2 separate regions of the Homo sapiens genome follow, and region 1 is linked to region 2. The links are contacts of gene promoters, found by promoter capture Hi-C in human tissues and cell types (Jung and others, 2019). All regions are on one chromosome and are shown on one strand. The core of a region is centred on a gene start or on the middle of the fragment in contact, and the rest is flanking DNA. Distances in the headings are between cores, read along the strand shown. Region 1 overlaps SHANK2 (SH3 and multiple ankyrin repeat domains 2). Region 2 holds the start of NADSYN1 (NAD synthetase 1).

What was found. The method cuts DNA at HindIII sites, captures the fragments that hold promoters and counts their contacts. A contact is called where the count stands out against the background at its distance.
Region 1: a fragment that was not itself captured here is called in contact with the fragment with the promoter of NADSYN1 in region 2 in 1 of the 25 tissues and cell types used here (H1 embryonic stem cells).

The regions. Positions count from the first base shown.
Region 1 is chr11:71,130,740-71,135,207 of GRCh38, forward strand. The region is part of intron 3 of SHANK2 (SH3 and multiple ankyrin repeat domains 2); the gene reads right to left. Among named protein-coding and RNA genes, the nearest start is that of SHANK2, 120 kb to the right of the region's middle. The HindIII fragment of the contact is 6,307 bases long and covers 47-4,468 here.
Region 2 is chr11:71,450,426-71,455,065 of GRCh38, forward strand. NADSYN1 (NAD synthetase 1) reads left to right here and starts at 2,778. Exons shown (of 21, transcript NM_018161.5): 1 at 2,778-2,956. The coding sequence starts at 2,872. DHCR7-DT (DHCR7 divergent transcript) reads left to right here. Exons shown (of 2, transcript NR_186309.1): 2 at 1,265-1,732. RefSeq lists enhancers at 1,447-1,496, 1,617-1,696, 2,934-3,435, 3,436-3,935 and a silencer at 2,507-2,876. The HindIII fragment of the contact is 4,997 bases long and covers 1,285-4,640 here.

The DNA.
Region 1 (4,468 bases), core at 1,950-4,449, 320 kb before region 2:
GCCAAGAGAACAAGGGGGAGGAAATGCCAGAGCATCTCAGGTCGTGGCCCCACAGGGATATTCCCTATTCAGGATCTGGAGCCAGAAACGCAGACCCCGGGGACGATCAAGATGCCAGCTCTGCAAACGCATGTAAGCAGCGTTCAGCAAGAACTTAGGAAAGCCGGAAAAAACTCCAAGTTTCTGAGCACGTCATTCATTACAAAGAAGCGCATTTCACATTCAGAATTTCCTCTGCAGCTACGGTTTCTGTCATCATCAAGTTCTGCATGATGCATTTTTAAGGACCCGTCATAAACACAAGCTTGGCAGGGGCCACGGAAAGGTGCGCGCAGGCGTCTTCGGGTCTTTGATAGCTGTTCACGTGCAATCCGTGTACTTGCACACCTCCAACAAATAACCAACATCAAGGTCACCCCAAACTACAATTGGTTTATTCCCAAATGCAATTATCCAAATGAAATAATACTTCTTACTGCGGACAGAGGCCCATTGGGCTGGTGCTCGTGGTGGCAAACACTAAAACCCCGGCACGGGTAACACACGAAGCTGAAATCAGACATGTCAATGGAACAGGGAAATGTGGGGTGACCTCGACTCAGAAGGACAGCCTAGTCGGGGGGTGCTGAGGTCCAAGAGTCAGGCTTAGTGCTTCTGCATGTTTAAACGCCAATAAAGGGTAACGGAGCTGTGGATTCGTTTTTCCAATCAGAACATTTTTCGCACAGTGAAAGCTTCATGGCAGCCGCTGGATGCTGTGGCGAAGCGGTGGGCAGACTGTATCTCCAGGCGATTAGTAAGAGGCTGCCTGTCTGTCTCTGCTATTGTCAAGGTGATGCTAAACTGGGAGACACTGCTTGGTTCTGCCAGTGGTCCATGGACTCCTTGGGGGTGACTTAATCTTCCTCTTTTCATAGCCATGATTTCAGGCAGAGCCATTGTAAAGCAGAGATCAGATGCTGGCCAGAGAAGTCCCTTTAGAAGCAATAAATTGAAGTGAAGTAAGTCAGCCATGGAAGGGGGGTTATAATTAAAAAGTCCTGACTGCAGACACAAAACACTTACTATGTGCCCATAGCCTGGCTCGTAAGCATGTTAAACACATCATCTCTTCCTTATGTTCTCCGGGAGGCCGCATTAGCACCCCCAGGCCCAAAGAGGAATGCTCCAAAAATGCCAGATCATTCCCAGAGCCACACAGCTGCAAGAGGAGGAGCAGGGATTAAGGGGGTCCCCGAGGCCGAGCTAATGAGTCCAACTCGATCCTGGCAGCACACAGACGGAGCCATGAGTCAGGAAGATTAAGCCAGCAGGAGGTCAGAAAGTGGATTAGCGACGAGGCCACAGAGGCAGGTGAGGCTGCTGCCGGGACGCAGATGCTGCTCAGAAGCTGTGGTGTGGGAGGCCTTGTCCGCCCAGAAGGGAGAGCAGCGAGGGAAGGGTGGAGGCTGGCGGGGAGGCAGAGTCGGAGCCAGGCTGGAGGAATCGCCCAGGTCCAACCTCAGAGCAAAGATGCTGGAAAAAAGCCTCACCCTTGGATTTAACACAGAAAAGTAAAAACTGATGATCTGCGGCCCTGGTATTGCCACCCTCTGGATAAGCCTTACCAGCTTGGGATGCCAGCAAAGAGGGGACGGCTGCTCCTCACCAGCATGGCCCCAAACCACAATACTCCCCCTACACTGTGGGATTTACAGAGCTTTGCTACAGAACTTGTAGTAATTCCAGACCAAAGTCACTTTTCCCGTACATTGTTTTCTCCATGAGATTTAAGTAGGCATTAACTCTAAGCCAACGATGAAGAGCACCTCAAGTCAAGACGTTTTATGTGCAGGCTACGGAGACCCTGCAAACTGGGCCAATCTCTCCCATATACAAAGCACGAACCCAATACGTAACAGAGGAAGGGTCCACATATAATCCTTACAATATTTGCTTTAAATGACGTGTAAGAAAACAAAGTCCTTCTCTGCCTTTATCGAGGATGCCCTGTGACGTGAATAATAACCAATATGATCAAGGCTTGACTTTCCATGGCAACTTTCATTGGAAGGCCCCACAGCCTTCCCTTTTTTTCTAAACAATTTGTAACTCACCAGTTTCTTGACTAAAATAGTCAAGTGTAAACCACTCCTCTTAAGGACAGGTAGGCTAGTTTTCATTGTTGTATTACAGAGACAGTGGAGGCAGAGGGAAGGCTGAGGGGCTGGGGAGCAGCACTCTCTTTGGTCTTAGCAACCAGTTAATGAAACCACAATCAGATTCCATGCCTTCTACCTCCCCAAGAGGTAATCCAAATGCATACTACAAAGGACATGGCGGGGCTACTCAAAGTGGAGACCAAAGATCCTAACCATGTATTTCTATAATCAAGAGAATGGATAGATGGGTGAATGAGTGGATGGAGGGAGGGAGGGAGGGGTGAGGTGGGTAGGAGGATGAGTGGATGCATGGATGGGTGGCTGGGTAGGTGGGTGGCTGGGTGGATGCACAGATGAATGGATGGATGGATGGATGGATGGATGGATGGATGGATGGATGGCCGGCCGGACGGCTGGCTGGCTGGCTGGCTGGCTGGCTGGGTAGGTGGGTGGCTGGGAGGATGCATGGCTGGCTGGCTGGCTGGCTGGGTAGGTGGGTGGCTGGGTGGATGCACAGATGGAGGGAAGGATGGATGGACAGATGGAGGGAGGGAGGGAGGGACGGACGGACAGACGGAGGGAGGGAGGGAGAGAGAGACAGAGGGATGGACGGACGGATGGATGGCAGGCAGACAGGCAGGCAGGCTGGCTGGCTGGATGGATAGATAGACGGATGAGTGAGTGGAGGGGGGATGTGGATGGATTGGAGGGTCAGGGGATGGGTGGGTAGGTGGGTGGAAGCGTAGAGTGGAGGGGTGGTCTAGGGGGCCTCCCTGGTTAGGCTGGAGTCAGTGTTGGGCCACACTCCATGGACTCAAAGTTTTTGAATAAAGACCATTATCATGTTACCATCTTCTGCCCAAGTCCTTTTTGATGACTTTTCTTTTAGGGCAGAAAATGTGCTCATGTCAAGGCAACATATACCTAAACTTCTAATTAAGTCTATAATCCCAGAAGAATTTCATTTAGCTAACAAGCAACTGGGAGAGAACATTCTGGAACAAAACATCTGAAACTGAAAGGGCAGCCCAAAGGAAAACTATGTATTTTTTTTTTTTTTTTAGGGAAGGGGTCTCATTACGTTGCCCAGGTGATCCCCCTGCCTGAGCCTTCTGAGTAGCTGGGATTACAGTTGTGCACCACTGCACCCGGCTACATTCGTGGATAAAAGAGCTTTTACCTTTCTCGGTGGACTGGGTGACTTGACAGTGCAGAAAGCTCCTCCGTGGCAGGAGGCCCGGAGTGGGCACTGGACACAGCACAGGTGGGAGGGGAGGGGCTCATCTCCAGCAGGAGAGGCAAAGAACTGAGACAAGGCTTCCCTCTCAGTCCACGTGCGGTGCCACCCCATCACTGACGATGGCCAGAGCAGGCATCTGGGGAGGGGAGAGGGGGAAAGGGGAAGTGACTGCCAACAGGGGTGGGGTTTCCTCTTGGGGGGATGGAAGCTTCCTGAGATTCACAGTGGTGATGGGCTCACTCATCCGTGAATTTCCTAAAATCCAACGACTTGCACACTTCCAATGGGTGAATTATATGGCATGTATATTACATCTCAATTTTTTTTTTTTTTTTTTGAGACGGAGTCTTGCTCTGTCGCCCAGGCTGGAGTACAGTGGCACGATCTCGGCTCACTGCAACCTCCACCTCCCAGGTTCAAGCAATTCTCCTGCCTCAGCCTCCTGAGTAGCTGGGATTATAGGCGTGCATCACCACACCTGGCTAATTTTTGTATCTTTAGTAGAGATGGAGTTTCACCATGTTGGCCAGGCTGGTCACAAACTCTTGACCTCAAATACTCCACCCGCCTCGGCCTCCCAAAGTGCTGGGATTACAGGCATGAGCTGAGAAACTGCAAAGACGCAGGCCTCACATCTTAAACCCTCTCTCCAGGACAGCCCCACTGGCTTTGTCATAGGGAAGCGTCTGTGGGTCTCCAGCTTTCCCTGCACTTCCCAGGGTCCCAGCCTCCAGCACCATTTACCTGGAGCCCCCATCTCTTCTAATCCTTCTCCTCTCACCAGAGAGGCCAAGATTACCCTTTTCAAATATAAACGATGTCACATGCTCTGTACCAAACCTCTGCCCATCAAATACAACCATGGCCTCCTTGTCATGACCCTATACCTGGACGCCCACCGCCCACCTCTGCTGCCTCACACACACTGCTCCCGCAGCCCTCAGCCTTCTCTGCTGAGCCAACACACCAAGTTTGTGCATACCTCAGGCTGGCTGTCCCTGAAGACCCTCACCCTAGAAGATTCCAAGCAAAGACCCTCTCCCATCCTCTGAGGCTCTGTACAGCCATTGGCGCCTCACCCCACAGA
Region 2 (4,640 bases), core at 1,528-4,027:
ATGCTATGTGACCCAGTTTCTAGGACTTAACTTCCCTCTTGACATAATAAATTTATTTATTTTTATTTATTTATTTAAAGACAGGATCTTGCTCTGTTGCCCAAGTTGACCTAATAAATTTCAAGAGTCCTAAAATTTTCTTTTTTAAGACAACATATCACTGTGCTCCATGATTGATAGTGGGGCTCCGTGGTTTCTGCCAGAAGTCTCCATTTTTCCTTTTGTTATTAATGAGTAATTGGTGCAGTGATACTTTGAGACTGTAAATATGCTGTTCCCAAATGACCTTTCACCCAGTGAACTAGCATTTAATGAGGAATCTTGCCTGAATCCCTTATTTCTTGGGACAAAGTGTTAATTTTCTAATTTTATCATTCCCTCAACATTTATTAATAAATTATTTATTAGCAAGCATTCTTCTGTAGGGATTTCCTCTTTGATTTATTTTTTATCAGTATGCCCTAATGGATTTAGCTGACCGAGTTATGATCCTTACTGTATTGTCCTGTATTTAGCTAACGGGAGCCCCTTCAAATTGGCTTCTTTTTTCATATGACATGTATCTACCATCCTTTGAGTACTTACTTATTTTCTGGGACAACCAGATGTTCAAGGATCCTCCCCTTCTCTGCCCAGGCCTGGCATCAGCCATTGTTGGCAGGAGATAATTTGAGCAGATCGTGTGGATTTCAGAAGCATGAAAACTACTGTGAGGATTAAATAAGTTAGCATGTATAACATTCTGGTGCTTTTGTGGAGTTTCCAAATTGTCATGAACAAGCACTACTTTATAGACAGGAAAAAAAGTGATTCAAAATGTGAAAACGGGTATATGTACATAAGGTAAAAATAAAATCCTAAGCCCCCCATTGACCAAAGGGACCTTCTCCTGACCAAGGGGACACCAGAAAAACCTCAACACTGAATTCCCAGACATGATGGGATGGGAGGTCAGATGCGCCTGGTAATAGCCCCCTGTTTCAGAGTTTGGACACCACAACTGGCCGGCATTCATGTTAAAACAGAGATCGTAAGACTGACAGAACGGACTCTGTGGCAATAAGATACCAAATTATAAACAGGACCCAAAGCCATGCTAGGCGAGGGTAAGTCAGGCAACCCACACTTAGAGAATAAACTATATTCTAAGAGCCACAAGGCTTTCTGTTTCTCTATTAGCCAAACACACACTAGCCTTGGGATAGGGAATATTAAAACAATTGCAGCTCCACTAGGTGCCAACTAACTGACTCTGTTTCACCAGCCATAGCAGCTGTGATTGGACAAGAGACTGATTTCAGTGACTTTCTCCTAATAAGAGACCACCGACCAGCTGACCATGCCGACCAGCTGACCCGTTAATAGAGAGAGATGATGCACCTGCATGCCTTTGTGTCCTGAAAAGACGTTTTGCCATAAAGGCCCTAATTGTAAGATGTGTAAATGTTAAGTCTCCACCCCAAAGTGAACATGGGTCATATATTACATGCTTTGCTCAATAAGAGGGCATGTGTCAGGACCACCTTCATGAATATTCATAGCTCCTCCTGTTACCTGTTGAATATGTATGTTTAGCCAATCCCTTCAGCATAGCGCTCCTGCCCCAACCCCTCCTCCTTGGACGTGCCTGTCTCTGGCCTTGGCTGGAGACAGATTCCCAGCCTCAGACAGATGGCCGCCACCTTGCAGGCTACGACCGTTTACAAGAAATAAAGCCTTCTCTTTTTCCAAATTTGTGAATTGTGTGTTTTTAAACTAACATGAATGACAGAAGGAAGGATGGCCTCTTCAAGCAACGATGATGAGGCAGTTATTTATATGGGGGAAAAATGGATTCTACCGTGGGTGGACTAAAGAGGAAATGTGAAAAAATAAAAAGTGAGAAACCGCTGGTAGTGAATCGGTGCAAGCGCCCTGGAGAAGAGACTTGGCAATATTTAGTAAAGTCAAACAGCACGAACCCTACTACTCTGCAAAGCTGCTGCAGGAACTGGCGGAACGAGGTCACGAAGGAAACCTTGCCGGAAAGGAAATTGCAGCAGTGCCTGTGTGCGTGCGTCTGTTGGCAAAACGCTGCTAATAACGTCAATGCCCATCCGCTATTGAATAAACCTGCTTTACTGCCACTATGGAATACCAAACTGCAGAAAAATAATTAAAAGAACGTATCTCATATTACAGGGGAAAAAATCAAGTTGCAGAAGCACATTCAAGTGCAGTTCCTGTAGTTTCAGAAAAGGCAAACAGTGCGCTACCTGAGCTACTTACACACGTGGTACAGGAGTGAAAGGGGCAGGAGAGGGTTCCCAAGAATTCAGCGCCATCCGCCCAGGGTGGCGGGATTCCCAGCACGGAGAATCGATTGCTATCGTCTGCTGTCCCGCGGGCACGATGGAGCGCTCCTACCGTACTCTCCACTTTTGGTGTATTTGGAACGTTTCATGCCGTATTAAAATAAAACATGGCTAAGCTGGATGTGGGGTGGCGGTGTGGGATAAAATAGAGGGGTGCTGCAGCTGGGCGGTGAGCCCCCTGCACCTGTGCACCTGAACGGGTTTGCCCGCAAGGGCCGGGCCGGGGCCGGGGCCTGGGACGTGGGTGGAGCCGGGGCGGGGGCGGGGCCCTTCGCGGTGCCGTGAACGCTGAGGCCACCTCGCTGCGCAGGCGCGGTCGTGAGCTCCTCAGACGGGGCGGGGCGATCCGTAGGCAGGGCCTGACGCCGCAGTCCTCCTTGGCCGGAGCCTCAACGGATGGGCGGGGAGGGGGCGGGGCCGGGCAACCCGGAAGGTCCGGCGTCCCAGCCGCCTACCTCGCTGGGACCCTGGTCTTGCTGTCCCCCGCTGGCCTCCTGCCCAAGCGACTGCGGCCAGGATGGGCCGGAAGGTGACCGTGGCCACCTGCGCACTCAACCAGTGGGCCCTGGACTTCGAGGGCAATTTGCAAAGAATTTTAAAGAGTGAGTCTGGGGCGGCGGGGGCACCGGTTTGGGGTGGCGCACGGGCACCGTGGCTGGGCCCAGGCTTGCCCGTGGCGTGCTCACAGCCTTGCCCTGGGAAACTCTCGGCCCTGGGCATGGGATCAGGTGAGATAATGGGCAATGACCCCGCCAGTGGTACGTGCTCAGGTCCTCGTCGGGAAGTGAGTGTTTATAGTTCCCGGGGACGAGCGATATACAAGGCACGGTTAAGAAAAGTCTGGCGGCTTAGGCGGGAGGCCTGGGGATGGACCCGTGTTCTGATATCTCTGGGGTCCCGTGGTTGGGACTGAGCTGCCCATTCTCGGAGATATCTAAGTTGAACAGAATGGCTGCGCACTGGCGGGGATGGTGTGCAGAGGCCAGAGATTGATGGTCTCTGGTCCCCGTGGGCCTTCCTGGTGGGAGAAGGCGTCCCAGAAAGGGAAGTAGAAAAAGACGCCTGTCATCCCAGCATTTTGGGGGGGCCGGAGGGGGTGGAAGTCACCTGAGGTCAGGAGTTCAAGACCAGCCTGGCCATCATGGTGAAACACCGTCTCTACTAAAAATACAAAAATCAGCCGGGCGTGGTGGCCTCGAAGATAGGGTGTGGTTGTTGAAAGGTCACCATCTAATTTTCGTTCATATGGACGCACCGTGGAGGATGAAAAGTTAAACTATTACACCTGCACCTAAATGGGCAAGCCTGCAGGTGTAGTCAGGTTGCAGCTTGTCTTGCACTGGTCTGCTGACTGCAAGAGCCTTTGCCAGGAACAATAGAAACAGAATGTTTCAAGAGATGGCATCTAATCAGTATGTGCCCTGGATTATTATTATGATTATTATTATTTGACATGGACTGTCACTCTGTTGCCCTGGCTGGAGTGCAGTGGTGTCATCTTGGCTCACTGCAGTCTCTGCCTCCTGGGCTCAAGCGATTCTCCTGCCTCAGCCTCCTGAGTAGCTGGGATTACAGGCGTCTGCCACCATGCATGGCCAATTTCTGTATTTTTAGTAGAGACAAGGTTTCACCATGGTGGCCATGCTGGCCTCGAACTCCTGACCTCAAGTGATCCACCTGCCTTGGCCTCCCAAAGTGCTGGGATTCCAGGCATGAGCCACCGCAGCCAGTGGTTTTTTATTTTTATTTTTTAAATATCAACCTGCTTTCACCTCATTTGCTCAGAGCAAATCTAGTTGAACTGAAGAAGGCTTGGCCAAAACTAAGTTTCCACTCTGCCAGCCTCTCCTCCCTAGGTGCTTGTTGGAAGCTGCTGCCCAAGACCAGTAAGCCGATGGTGCCTGACAGTGGCACCACTGCTGGATCGTAATCCTCTAAGTCCTTTTTCCTCTAGATGGTGTTGGGCATTTCCTTGTTAATAAACTACCAGGGTCTGACTTCTTCCTCTTCCTCCGCCTCCTCCATGGTGCTAAGGGTCAGACCTGCAAGCCCTCCCTGTTTCTCATTTCCTGCAGATATAAGCAGGTATATGCAAGTATAAGCAGGTGCAGGCGTACTCGTGTATACAGGTGTATACAGGTGTATGCTGCCCTCTGCTGCCATGCTGTCAACAGGAAGCCTGACTGCATCCCGTCTGGGAAGGCACAGAGCATTTTTGTTTGTTGTTTGTTTTTTTTTTTATCCTACCTACTGCAGCAGGTTGTTTCATCTGTCTTTGAGTGTATA